Linked DNA regions of Homo sapiens: all the other regions are linked to region 5. Evidence: promoter capture Hi-C in 16 types of primary human blood cells and fetal thymus (Javierre and others, 2016). All regions are on one chromosome and are shown on one strand. The core of a region is centred on a gene start or on the middle of the fragment in contact, and the rest is flanking DNA. Distances in the headings are between cores, read along the strand shown. Region 1 holds the start of LOC107987102 (a long non-coding RNA gene). Region 2 overlaps AOPEP (aminopeptidase O (putative)). Region 3 overlaps FANCC (FA complementation group C). Region 4 overlaps FANCC (FA complementation group C). Region 5 holds the start of AOPEP (aminopeptidase O (putative)).

Region 1 (2,700 bases), core at 173-2,672, 380 kb after region 5:
TCCTCACGGGCGTTTCTTTTCTCTCCTTGCTGACAGCCATCCTGATGGCTGTGCAGTGCATCTCGCTGCACTTTGCCTTTCCCTGACCACTCATGCCCTTTCTGTGAGCATCTCCCCACATGCCTACTGGCCATTTGTACATCTTCTTTGGAGAAATGTCTGTTCAAGTCCTTTGCCCATTTTTGAATTGGGTTGTTTATCTTTTTGTTGTTGAGTTATAAGAATTCCTTATGTATTCTGAATACTAAACTCTAATCATATATATTATTTCCAGATATTTTTCTCCCATTCTGTGAATTGTGTTTTCACTTTCTTGACAGTATCATTTGATGCACAAAAGCTTTTAATTTTCATAAAGTCCAATTTATCTATTGTTTTCTTTCATTGCTGTGCCTTTGGTATCATATCCAAGAAATCATTGCCAAATCTAATGTCACAAAGAGTGCTCACTTTTGACTTGGACCGTTTTTTACCCCTCAAGTCAAGTGGGCTTCAGGAAGGATTTCTTTGTAATAAACCAATTTTTTTAAAGATTAACAGAATTCTTTGCACTGTTGCAGTGAATAGCATTGTGGTTGCTTTGCGAGCCCATTCTCATCGTGGCCTTACTTCTTTCCATGAGGAGGAGGAGAGCAGCACACTGCGATGGAAAGAAATGTACGTAGGGGGACAGGAGACCTGGCTTCTACCGCAGGCTTTGGCAGCAAGCCGTGGGCCCAGGAGATGGCATCTCCTGTCTCTGAGCCTCTGTTTTCTCTTCTATGACATAAAGGTGCTGGAAGGGGCAGGCTCTGGGGTCCATCCCAGCTGTCAACCTCCTTGACCATTTATCTGTGCTGGGCAGCATCCTGGTACACACACTGTGCAGAGGCCAGACCCTCGGACAGGTAACCCACCTCTCGCCTGGAGCAGAAATGAGTACTAGGATGCTGGACCACAGGGAGACTTACCAGGGTGATGACATCCCAGGCGATCGTGTGGCCTCCAGGAGCCCAGAGCAGGAAGTTGAGGAGAAGGTGCCTGATCAGCTGTTGTGCAGGAGCTCTGAGGTCTGTGTCTGTGCCCTGTCCTGCTACCGTCTGCAGGTCCTGGGCTGAGAGGCTGCTGCTTCTGGACATTGCCAGGAGGTGGCCCAGCACGGCCTTCACCTGGACCTGGGCAATAGTATTTCACAGGGGAGAGGTTAGGAAGAGGCAGGACAGACATACTTCTAGGATTTATTTATTTGCTTTGAAACAACCCCCAGAAACGGGTAAGCACTGGCCCCTGAGAGAGGGAGCTAGGCAGCGGCCGAATTTACACTCGATTTCACACAAACCCAAATGGGCGGAATGGAAATTTCTTGACTTTCTTTCGTCTTGCTCACCAAGCAGTCAGGGCACCATGCCAGGAACTGACCTTTTTTTGTATAAAAGGAAACAGAGAAAAGTTCTCAACAGAATGTAGTCAGATTTTTATATTGTGGGAAAAAGAACAAAAGGCTCCTTGAAGACTCGCCTATCACAGCCACAAATCAATTAAAGCCCCACGCAGTCAGACCTCCGCCGAGCCAGTGTTCCCATACGAATGTAGGCTTGCCTTTGCTTCTTGCTATATTGGGGGTCAGGGCGGGGGGTCGGGGGGAACACACACACATGCACGCACGTGTACACAAGCACGGTCATACACACATGCATGCACACACAAGAACACATTTGTTTTAGATGCCGGAACAATCTGTTCATACGTGTTTAATGCTCAAGCAGAGGCCACAAGTCTGTGGAACCCACATAATAATGGTAATTATAAGTCTGCAGGTTGCTTTTGCATAAAAAATACTCATTCCATGCTGAGATGTTTCTGCTTGCTACAAGAATGGTACACCCAGTCGTGACTTGGAAAACAAAGCAAAGCAAAAACCGAAAGCCCATAGCTCCAAATGCCACATGGAACTCGTGAACAGCTATGTTCCATCACTTCTGAAAGAATACTTAGGCCTATTCTGAGAATTCCCATGACCGATTTTATGGATTTTGTGTGAGGCGTTTTTTTTCCCTGGAAGTCAAGGCCTCATTCAATGAAGTCTGTCATAAACTCCAGTACACTGGGTGTGTTGTGTGAGCTCCTCTGACCACAATACAAGACCGTGAGAAACTGCACCATCGGGCTCTTCCACGGGGAGCGGCAGCGCTCCAGCAGGGCAGGCCTCACTCTCCCCACCTCGCCCCTCAGCCGGCCCAGCCTGCCGGGTCTGATGGTGTCTACGGGAGCCCAAGGCCATTCTGCCATCTAACTGGGTCTGCAAAAATGTCAGGGTTTAGGAGGCTATGCCTTTATATCTGTTTTTTCTCTTGACCCACAACCGACTTTCTGCCCTTGTCCAATAATCCCTAAGATGGGGTCTATCTTCCTTTATGTCTGGCCCAGACTGTCTTTCCCTTCAGAGGCCGTCCATGCTCATGGGCTTCCACTTGAACACCGATAACTAACTTTAAACATGTCCTAAGTTTTTCAGGAGAAAGATAAAAGCTTTCTTTTCTTTTTAAAGTATTTTTTATCCTGCATTATAAAGACATATATGCTTACTATGGAAAATTTGAAAAGAGAAAAAGAAGAACCATTAAAATGATCTATAACTCTACCATCCAAAAAGACTCACTGTTAATAATTCGGTTTATATACTTCTTGTCTTTTTTCTACGCACTGAGACCATACCACTCA
Region 2 (2,700 bases), core at 145-2,644, 350 kb after region 5:
TATATCATAGACATGCCCGTTGTCACGGGACCTGTGTCCCAAATCCAAGATGTGGTTTCTAAATGGCCCTTCTAGGCATGTGCCATTTTTCTAGCATTGCAGGAAGTCAGAAGAGCAGGCTTCCCCCTCCACTGTGTTTCTGAGCCTTCCAGAGTTCAGCTCCATGGAACCTCTTGGGTAGTGTGTGATAAGTTTCCTGTAAAGGCAGAAGTGGAGTCTGGCTGGGGCTGAGGCTGGGGCAAGGCTAAGGGAGCCATCTTTACAAATGGTTTGCAGGATTCCCAGGTGCCTGTCCCTGGGTCTCCCTCCCAGGAGATGGCCTGAAAAGCTGTAGCTCTTCCCAGGCCCTTACTACTCCTGGGACTCCCCTGCTCCCTCTGCTGTCCTGCTGCGAGTCTCTGACCTGGCCCAGGCTCTTGCTCAGCCATGTGGTTCCTACCTCCTACCTCATGCCAGCCCAGCCTGTCTGTGGCCCTCCCTGCATGTTGACGCTCTTCTAACCCCCATCTTGGGGAGCTGGAGCTGGAGTGGGGCCTGGTTAGAGCAGCTTGCCTGAGCCGACGAGGGTCCAGCCTGGAGCATCAGGCTCTGGAAGCCGAGCTTGTATGTAGGTTTTCACACTGTCCGGGAGTCAAGACACAGTGGGTTATGAAATCCATCTAGTAGGTCACCAGTCAGCATTTTAAAAAAAGAAAGAAGAGGCCGGCGCGGTGGCTCCCGCCTGTAATCCCAGCAGGCCGGGCGCGGGGGCTCCCGCCTGTAATCCCAGAAGGCTGGGCGCAGTGGCTCACACCTGTAATCCCAGCAGGCCGGGCGCGGTGGCTCACACCTGTAATGCCACCACTTTGGGAGGCTGAGGTGGGTGGACCATTTGAGGTCAGGAGTTCAAGACCAGCCTGGCCAACATGGTGAAACCCCATCTCTACTAAAAATACAAAAAAATTAGCCAGGCGTGGTGGCACATGTCTGTGTTGCCAGCTACTTGGGAGGCTGAGGCAGGAGAATCGCTTGAACCTGGGAGGCAGAGGTTGCAGTGAGCCGAGATCGCGTCACTGTACTCCAGCCTGGCAACAAAGTGAGACTCGGTCTCAAAAAACAAAAAACAAAGAATAAAAATACCAGACTGCATTGCGTGTAGTGAAGGAAAGTGTTGGGAAATAACACTTTGATTTCAGTGTGTGTCTATATGTTCTACATATACACATTTGTGGATACGTATGCACACATAGATATGCATACGTGTTTGTACTGACCATCACTCTGCCCCGCACCATTTCCCAGTGCCTGTCATGCAGTTGGCTGCCATGAATGTGCTTGGAATCAGTGAGCCCCATCCTCATAGCCAGTGCCTGTGTGTGTGCTTCCTTCCACGTGCTTTTTGGATACCCAGGTTGCATGTCTGCTTGGGCCTCCTAGGTGGCTCAGGCCTGTACCACAGACATACCCCGTCCTCCCTGTGGCAGTCTGTCAGTGGGGTAGGGTCCACAATCCTGGAACCATTACTTGGATTCCTTGAGGATTTTAATTCTCTACTGCCAGATATGTGTCTGATGTGAATTGGCTTCCACATACCTGCCCTTCATTCTTCCCACCCTAGATTCCAAGACCCTCCCACCTGCACCCAGCCTCAAAGAAGCAGTTGTGTGGAGCACTCTTAGGAGAAGCTGAAATCTTTGCTGTCATTACCCTGTATTCATGGAGGCTTTGGAAACCCGGAAAGTGCTGAATCCCTTTCCAACAGTATAAATTGCGCCTCTGTGTTACCCCGACCTGTACGCTAAGTGAGGGCAGCACTGTCATTGTTTCTGTTGAGCATGTCCCGTAAGCAGAACACTTTGAACAGCAGATGTCCAAAGTAATTTTTATTGGACTAAAGCATTCAAGGGTGCACACCTGTGTGTTGTGCAAAAGTCAACTTCACTGTGATGACATGGAAAGGATCCAGAGACCCAGATGCCACTTCTTCTTGCGAGAGCTGTGCTGATTTATTTCATATGTGAGCTCTCGCCCACTTCCGGCAGGTCAGGAGGCCAGCCAGGCCCAGGCCGCACCTGCTCTTCCCCCTCCCAGGCCACCTGCTTGTCTGCTGCCCAGCGTCAGCACCGGCAGCGGCAGAGGGAAGAGATGAGCACATCCTTGATAGGTGAGGTGTTGGGTGCTTGAGAGGCTGGATCCAGGGCAGAGGTGTGGGTGCTGCAGGTGTCCAGGACCCTGTGCTCACTGCCACGGGCAGCTCTGTTCTCACTTCTCCGTGCCCTGTCCCTGTTTCCCTTCTGCCGTCTTGTTCTTTCTCTACTTGCCCAGTCTCCTTCCCTCCCACACCAACTTCATCATTTTCCTCCCTCGCCCCTTTGGTCATGGTCTGCGGTCTGGGTCTGTGTAGGGCTGAAATACATGCTGACTCTAGGCTCTCAGGTGATTCCTGGCATAGATTTGGAGTGACTTGATGAATTTTAATCACAGTTTTAAAGGTCATTAAATTTTTCAACTATATTGACAATAGAAATATAATAAAATGTGAATATTTGAAGTGTACCATTTGATTACTTTTGGCATATGTACCCATGAAACATTAAACATCAATGAAGAGAACTGAGAAGCCAGATAACTGTATGCAATTAAGAAATACAAGCAAAACCGCCATGAACAAAGTCAGACAGATTGACAAACCTGGAAAAAGCTGCAGTTTCATCAAAGATG
Region 3 (2,700 bases), core at 1-2,500, 440 kb after region 5:
CACGCCCAGCTAATTTGTACTTTTAGTAGAGATGCGGTTTTGACATGTTGGCCAGGCTCGTCTTGAACTCCTGAAATCGGGTGATCTACCTACTTCAGCCTCCCAAAGTGCTGGGATTAAAGGCATGTGCCACCGCACCTGGCCTAAATTGTGTACTGTTCTGAGTAGCATGATGAAATCTCATGCTGTCCCACTCTGTCCCATCTGGAACATGAATCATCCCTTTACCCAGGGTATCCATAATATATACACTACCTGCTCGTTAGTCACTTAGTAGCCATACTGGTTGTCAGATCAACTGTCACAGTATCACTGTGCTTGTGTTCAAGTAACTCTTATTTTATTAATACTTAATAATGACCTCAAAGTCCAAGAGCACTGGGGCTGGCAATTTGGATATGCCACAGAGAAGTTGTAAAGTGCTTTCTTTAAGTGAAAAGGTGAAAGTTTTCAACTTAATAAGGAAAGAAAAAAATCATATGCTGAGGTTGCTGAGATCTATAGTAAAAACAAATCATCTATCTGTGAAATTGTAAAGAAGGAAAAAAATTTCTGTTAGTTTTGTCGTTGCATCTCACATGGCAAAAATTACAGCCATCATATATGATAAGTGCTTAGTTACGATGGAAAAGACATTAAAGTTGTGAGTGGAATACAGAAATGTGTTATGATTGGTGGCAATCAGGTTTGGTACTATCCACAGTTTCAGACATCCACTGGGTGTCTTGAAATATATTCCCTATAGATAAGGAGGGATTACTGTATGCGATTTCCTCATCAGTGCTCCCGGTCAGTAGAGACAGAAATCAGTTCCTCAGTCTGCTTCCTAAAAAGTGAGAATGTTGGATGCACATTCCACTCTTCTTTTTCCCTCCCAAGGAAGAGAAGCCACAAGCTGGGTTTTTCCTACCAATCTCACCAAGCTGCCAGACCTGGAAAAGGGCTATCACAGTTGACATGAAACAGATTGTTTAATCAATTTCAATGTGGCTATTCTAGACTTTGAGCTTGCCTGCAGTACTGTGACTTCTTAATTGGTTCTGTAGTTCTCACTATAATTTTTTGGGATGTATGCTGTAGTTAAGTCAATGTCTCTACTGGAAAATAAGGTCTAGGACTTCCTATTCTGCCATCTTGCTGATGTCATTCCTGAAGAACGCCTTTAATGTTATTATTAATTCAGTTTTCATCTTCTAGTAATGACCTGCTTATATTCCTTGCTCATTTCTATAACGGAGTGTTTGCCTCTTTATGATTTATTTTTGCAAGTCATTTCTATATTTTGCATTCTGATCCTTTGTTTCTATTTGTTAACAGATTTTAAAAATTATTTTGTTTATTGTCAGCTGCTTTTTAAAAAATCAACTGTGATGCATATTTTGGGAGTTTGGTGTAGGGAGTACATACACACTGCACTGACTGATTTTTAAGGTCTTTTTGAATAAATTTATAATTACATAATTCAAAAGATCCATCAGTCAACATTCACCTCACAACCAAATCCAAGTCTTTACCTGACATGTAAATAAATAAATCTAAACACTCTCCATGTCTCCTATGGTTCTTCTTACATTGCCAAATCCAACATAATGAAGATTATCTCCAATGTTTTCCTCTAATAATTATATAGTTTAAGGGTTAGGTGCAAAGGATTCCTAAAGGTTGAGGACAAAGACAATTTCTGATAGAGCTTGAATTAGCAATAGCTTTACAAAAAAAAAAAAAAATCACCAAGTCCCTCAGTCCCAGATTCTCTTGGTTAATGATATGTCAAAAATGAAATGCCCACCAATGAAAACTGAGATTCTTTTACAGAGTGAAGAAACATTTGTAATGTGATTAATTGCCTTTTAATTTGTCTGAATCTCTTTGATTTGTTTAGTCTAGATTTTGGAATATCATGTTTCTTAAAATAGGGCATATGTTCACATCAAATGTTGCCTTGTAAATATCGTGTGTGTGTGTGTGTGTGTGTGTGTGTGTGTGTGTGTGTGTTGGGAGCAGAAGAAGGCAGAGCCAGGGCAGGCTAGTGTGAGAGCATACACTTGCATCTGTGCACATTCTCCTCTTGCAGAGTGAGCAATCCCAGGGTAAAACTAAGTACTGCTCTTTCTTTTATGCTCCCTACTGTGTATGTAGGGCTTTCTACCTAATGGGCCCACAAAAGACATTGTATGATTTACTTACTGCTCTGTGAGAGTTGAGAAAATAGTGATTTTTAAAAGAGTTTGAAAAAACTCACCAATTTGCTATGTATTCCACTAAAATAATCTTTCTATATAAAATACAACCATAACTGAACATCCATTTCCTATGAATTGTAAAATTTTCCTCTCATAACCAAACTGATACATTTTGAAACCTGAGAAGAAGGATGTTTAGTTTAACACCTACCGCCTTTGAGTGTTAAATCCATTAAGATGATTCTCTCTGAGTTCAGACGCTAATGATAAAACCATCTGTAAAACAAAATCAGTTGCAGGTTAACTCACGCTGCAAACAGGATTACATCAGTTCTATTTTTCTTGGTGTGAGTGATATTTCCGTTGAGATTCCCCCAACCCCCATCTTCTCATGTTTCACTCTGTCAGAGTGAAAAGGAAGCAGTGCCATGTCACATTTACTAATAATTGGGATTTTATGTTTAATGTCTATAATTCTGCATTCCTATTTAAGCAATGAACAATAGACAGGTCATTA
Region 4 (2,700 bases), core at 139-2,638, 420 kb after region 5:
CTGTACGGTGAAAAGGAAAGTGTGCATAAAGCACTTCTGCTTCATAACAAAAAAAGACGGTTGCCTGGAGAAAAGCACTCCACTTGTACACCTGCACAACTCTTTCAGCAGTGGGCTCACTTGACCACTTTTTGTCATGGAAATTGACCTGAAAGAATGACTAGCAGACAGGCAGTGGTCAGTCACATTTTAGGATTAGGCACATACTTTCTCAATAATTAGCAAAGTGACTCAGTCCCCTAAGGAAAATGACTGACAGTGTTTGTAGCCCATGATAAATTTTAGCTTTTAAGCAGAAATTAGAATCTTGGAAAATCTATGTCCACCAACATAAGCTTGACAGCTTCCCAATACTTAAAGTCATTTCTGATGAGCTCCATGGTGGCAGTAATGACTATAGGTTTTGATACTGCATATGAAATATGTCAATGTTTGGAAGATATACATAACTCAATGAATGAAGATTTTCCAAATGAACCATGCATAATGCTACAAAATTATGTGTGTTGGCAAAAAAGATCCATTGAAAGTGCAAGACAGACCAATGGGTTTCTAATGTAACAGAGTATGGAAAGTTAACTGACATAATTTCAGATTCCACATTGCAACTACCCTTTAAAAAATGACCATTTTCAAATTTTGGTGAGCTATCAAAGCAGAATTATCCACAATGATCTGCAATGGCTACTAGAATATTCCCGCCTTTCCCAATTACTATCTATGTGGGGCTGGATTTTCTTCATACACTTCAACCAAAACAACACGTCCCACCAGAAGCAGATATGAGAATTCAGCAGTCTTAGGGTAGAAAATGAGACTTGCAAAAATGTAAAAACAATGCTGCTTTTGTCAAACATTTTTTTTTTTGCCTTGGAAAAGAGCATTGCTTTTCATAAAAATAAGCTATTTGTGTTAACGTGTAATAAAATTATTTTTATTTTTTAAGTAACAAACACATTTTTAAAAATTTAGTTTCAAATATGATAAATATTAATAAGGGTTTAACAGATTTTTAAAACTCTTGGGAATGTATGAACACAAAGAAGGAAACAATAGTCGCTGGGGCCTACCTGAGCAACGGTAGGAGGGAGAGGAGCAGAAAAGGTAACTACTGGGGACTGAGCTTAATACCTGGGTGATGAAATAATATGTACAACAAAACCCTATGACATGTGTTTACCTATGTAACAAACCTTCACATGTACCCCCAAACCTAAAATAAAAGTTAAAAATAAAAAAATAAAATGTTTTGGGATCCTCAGTAATTTTTTTTTTTTTTGAGATGGAGTCTCGCTCTGTTGCCCAGGCTGGAGTGCAGTGGCACAATCTCGGCTCACTGCAATCTCCGCCTCCCAGGTGGAAGCGATCCTCCTGACTCAGCCCCCCTAGTAGCTGGGATTAGAGGCACACACCACCATGCTTGACTAATTTTTGCATTTTTAGTAGAGACAGGGTTTCACCATGTTGGCCAGGCTGGTCTCAAACTCCTGACCTCAGGTGATCCACCCGCCTTGGCCTCCCAAAGTGCTGGGATTACAGGTGTGAGCCACCACACCTGGCCGGGATACTCAGTAATTTTTAAGAGTATAAAGGGTACTGAGACAAAAACGTTTGGACACTGCTGTCGTACAGTCTTTCCAACACACCACAGCCTTCTAAGAAAAGGAAAAACGACGCAGGATGACAGGAAACATTTGCCACTTACAGCAAAATGGCCTCGTTTACAGCCTCAAAGAACTCTGGCTGGAGGATTTCCTGAGGTTCACGTCCATGACAGATGAGGAGAGCCTCCACCAGGGGGTCAACATCTGTCAGGGTAATAAGTGGGACACAAACTCGTGACAGGGACGCCACTCGCTCGGGAGCCATTCTATGGAAGAAATAAGAAATAATCACTCAAATCTAAGAGCCATGCATAATTAAGGACATATAAAAACCTTCATGCTAAAAAGGTCAAAGACAGATCACCTGTTTTGCCTCTAAATAAAGAGAATGACTCTAACACCATCGATGAACACTTCTCTTTTATCCAATTCTTTAGGAAGAAATCTTTTAGCTACCATTGCTGTTTCAGTGTCATTCATGGTCAGGACTTTGTTCTTTATATTCACAGGCACTTAATATGTCCAAAACACAACTCCTGAATTCCCTTCCCAGTGTTCCCTTTCCCCAGTGCTATCTTGTTTGCTCAGGCCCAAATCCTGATTCCTCCCTTTCTCTCAGGCCCCTCATCTGATCCATCAGTGAATACTAGCAACACATCTGACCTCTTCTGAACACCTCCATCACTGTCCTCCTAAGTGGAGAGTAACTCACCACCACCTCTAGCCTGGGTGACAGAGTAGCCTCTGGATTTCTTGTTTCTGCACTCACTCCTATAGTTTAACATCAGAACAGTTCCAGCACCCCTTTAAAAATTCCGATCACAACACTTGTCTGCTCAAAGCTTTGCAATGGCTTCTCACCTCATGTAGAGAATAAGCAATGTCTTTCACTAGCCAGCAAGTCCTTCCATGGTGGGTCCCCATCTGTTTCACTGACTTAATCTCCTTCCACTCTTACCTTTGTCTTTTCTGCCTCTGACTGCCCCAAATAAAGTCCTGCTGTTCACTCTGCCTGAAATACATGATTAGCTCCCTGGTTGCAGCTCAAATGTCCCTTTGTTAAGTGAGGTCTTCTCTGATCATCCCATGTCACTAT
Region 5 (2,700 bases), core at 107-2,606:
CTAGATCCTGTCACTTACGTGTTGATAACTCTTCACTAGTTTCCCCTTACACTTCGAATAAACTCGTATTCCTCACAGGAACCCAGAGAGTCTGTGCATGATGGGGACTCTCCTTGCCTTCTTGATCTCATCCTCTGTTCTTCCCATGACCTACTTTCTCACTTTCTCCAAGGCACCACATTCTGCCCCTTCCCTATTGCTTGCTCACATGTAGATTCTTCTCTTGGCTGTTCTTTCCTTAGCTCTCCACAGAGTTGGCTGCTTCTCAGTTTACTGAACCTCTTCAGAGGGCACTTTCTTGACATCTCAAATCAAAAGGTCACCTGTCTTCCTTTAATTTCTCAGCAACTTATTTTCCTTCTACTTTTTTTTTTTTTTTTGAGATGGAGTCTCGCTGTCGCCCAGGTTGGAGTGCAGTGGCGCGATCTCGGCTCACTGCAGGCTCCGCCCCCCGGGGTTCCCGCCATTCTCCTGCCTCAGCCTCCCGAGTAGCTGGGACTACAGGCGCCCACCACCTCGCCCGGCTAATTTTTTGTATTTTTAGTAGAGACGGGGTTTCACCGTGTTAGCCAGGATGGTCTCGATCTCCTGACTTTGTGATCCGCCTGCCTCGGCCTCCCAAAGTGCTGGGATTACAAGCGTGAGCCACCGCGCCCGGCCTTTCCTTCTACATTTAATGTTTGCTTTCTCAACTAGAAAGTAATCCCCATGAGGGAAGGCACAGCGTCTGTCTTGTTCCTGGTTGTTTCCCCAGCTTTTGTTAAGGGTGCTTGCCTGGCACACAGGAGGACCTTAAATTGTGGTGGAATTAATATGTGAACAATAGTCACATGCAGCAGAGGTGAGACTAGGCTAAGGAATAAAATTGCACATCTGTATTTCAGTAACTTTTTTTAAATTTTATTTGAAACAGGGTCTTGCTCTGTGGCTCAGGGTGGAGTGTAGTGGCACGTTCATAGCTCATTGCAGCCTCGAACTCCTGGACCTAAGCAATCCTCCTGCCTCAGCCTCCATAGTAGCTGGACCACAGGTGCACGCCACCACACTCGGCTAATTTTTTAATTTTTTTGTAGAGACGGGGCCTCCCCAGGTTGCCCAGGCTGGTGATTTTTTTCTTAAGCTTCATAAAGATTTTGCAATTAGGAATACTAGGGTACCAGGGCAACTCTACAAGCCCTAGCCAGCCAAGCTGCTCGCGCCCTCCTATGACCGCGGCAGCTCCGCGCCTGCGCAGATCTCCCCCGGGCGGTCTCGCCCTCTCATCCTAAGGGGGCGGGCCTAGCGGAAGGCGGGTCAGGCAGAATGCGGCCCCGGGCGCGTGTGGATGACGTCACCCGGCGCGTGCCGGGGTAGCCCGTAGTAACCCCGAGTCTGCGGAAGTGGTGACCCGTGGGACGCGGCTGAGACAGGTAACCTGTTCGCTCCCTGTTGGGTCCCTGCCTTCCTCTCCTCCGGCGTCGGGATGGCGGCGGGGACAGCATCATTCCGTTCTGAAGGCGACGGGGAACCCTCCCTTACCCTCACTTTTGCTCGACCAGCGAGGACCCGCATCCCCTCCTCAGTTCTCCCAGACTCCTGGGGCTGAAACCCATCCTGGGGACTGGGCGGAGCGGTCACATCTTACCACCTCAGCTGTAGAGGTGGCCACGGGCTCTGGCTGTCTTCTCCCCGGCGGCACAGACCTTTCTCAGCCTCTGGGTGCCTCCTCCTTCGTCTCTTGCCTCCAGGCCCTCGGTCACCTGCCGGTCTCGGCTTCTAGCCCCACAGGGCTCATCTCCAGTCTTAAGTAGGCAGAACAGTTTCGATTCGATTCATTTCCACTTGCAGTGAAACCCATCCGCCTCTTCTTCCCCCGGAGGATCTTTACTGAGAGCACCACATTTTGAGTTTTGGGGTCCCTATAGAACATTCATACTGTTAGTCTGGAGTTTTGTTCATGAACGCATGCATGGGCGGGGAGGGGGTGGCACAGTAATGTGATTATGATTATCTATTGTGATAATAAAATATCCACTTAGGATCCAATCCACTGTTGAGATGCATGGAACAGTTAATAGCATTGCATAAAATGCCCCTTGTACCTGATTTCTTTTTGGTTTTCGTGCAATGATGACAATTACCCTTGCAAAGGTAGCCCTCAAAATAAGTAACATAACCCGCTAGGGATGTTTAGATCGCAAAAAAACAACAATAAGGTTCATATGGTTGATAAAGAAATAATATGGGTTATTACAAAACCAGACAGAATAGATGCTGAGTATATGGGACGAGAAGCAGAATTCTGAAATCCTTGATCTCATTGATTGTTTGGTTTTGTATTTTTAAAATACTTTTAGTCTGTTCCATTTTTGAATAGTGTATATTGTGCTTCGTATAAGTCTGGGAAGCCTTCCAATGACTTGCTAATTGGGAAGATTAGATTCTTCCAATATTTGGGGGACAAAGTAGAATAAGGTTAGGGTATAATAATAGTTGCTTACTGTTGGCCCATCTGCTTTATCCCAGGTACTGTGTTCAACACTTTGCATATGTTTTCTCCTTACTTCATACAACCACCTCGTGAGTTAGGAATTATTACCCCCAATTTATAGAGAAGGAAATTGAGTTTCGGTTATATGAAATTGACTTGCTAAAAATTCACAGTTAACTAAATGGCAAAATCAAGATTTAAATTCAGGTCTGAATATAACTTCAAAGCCT

What was found. Contacts are between HindIII fragments. The CHiCAGO score rates a contact against its expected background, and 5 or more counts as called.
Region 1: a contact is called between a fragment that was not itself captured here and the fragment with the promoter of AOPEP in region 5, in 3 of 17 cell types (endothelial precursors, megakaryocytes and naive CD4 T cells). The highest score is 10.2, in endothelial precursors.
Region 2: a fragment that was not itself captured here is called in contact with the fragment with the promoter of AOPEP in region 5 in 1 of 17 cell types (endothelial precursors); the score reaches 6.8 in endothelial precursors.
Region 3: a fragment that was not itself captured here is called in contact with the fragment with the promoter of AOPEP in region 5 in 4 of 17 cell types (M2 macrophages, endothelial precursors, M1 macrophages and 1 more); the score reaches 6.9 in M2 macrophages.
Region 4: a contact is called between a fragment that was not itself captured here and the fragment with the promoter of AOPEP in region 5, in 2 of 17 cell types (M2 macrophages and M1 macrophages). The highest score is 5.7, in M2 macrophages.

The regions. Positions count from the first base shown.
Region 1 is chr9:95,106,116-95,108,815 of GRCh38, forward strand. It overlaps FANCC (FA complementation group C), which reads right to left. Exons shown (of 15, transcript NM_000136.3): 14 at 951-1,154. LOC107987102 (a long non-coding RNA gene) reads left to right here and starts at 353. Exons shown (of 2, transcript XR_001746847.2): 1 at 353-657; 2 at 773-2,631. It also overlaps a transcript of AOPEP not described here. The HindIII fragment of the contact is 2,168 bases long and covers 339-2,506 here.
Region 2 is chr9:95,072,768-95,075,467 of GRCh38, forward strand. The region is part of intron 14 of AOPEP (aminopeptidase O (putative)); the gene reads left to right. Among named protein-coding and RNA genes, the nearest start is that of MIR6081, 8.8 kb to the left of the region's middle. The HindIII fragment of the contact is 2,960 bases long and covers 1-2,700 here.
Region 3 is chr9:95,168,685-95,171,384 of GRCh38, forward strand. FANCC (FA complementation group C) reads right to left here. Exons shown (of 15, transcript NM_000136.3): 6 at 2,395-2,459. Among named protein-coding and RNA genes, the nearest start is that of MIR3074, 84 kb to the left of the region's middle. The HindIII fragment of the contact is 3,108 bases long and covers 1-2,700 here.
Region 4 is chr9:95,148,218-95,150,917 of GRCh38, forward strand. It overlaps FANCC (FA complementation group C), which reads right to left. Exons shown (of 15, transcript NM_000136.3): 7 at 1,706-1,870. It also overlaps a transcript of AOPEP not described here. Among named protein-coding and RNA genes, the nearest start is that of MIR3074, 63 kb to the left of the region's middle. The HindIII fragment of the contact is 2,111 bases long and covers 334-2,444 here.
Region 5 is chr9:94,725,343-94,728,042 of GRCh38, forward strand. It overlaps AOPEP (aminopeptidase O (putative)), which reads left to right and starts at 1,357. Exons shown (of 17, transcript NM_001193329.3): 1 at 1,357-1,409. RefSeq lists enhancers at 969-1,138, 1,084-1,626, 1,149-1,628. The HindIII fragment of the contact is 1,744 bases long and covers 1,119-2,700 here.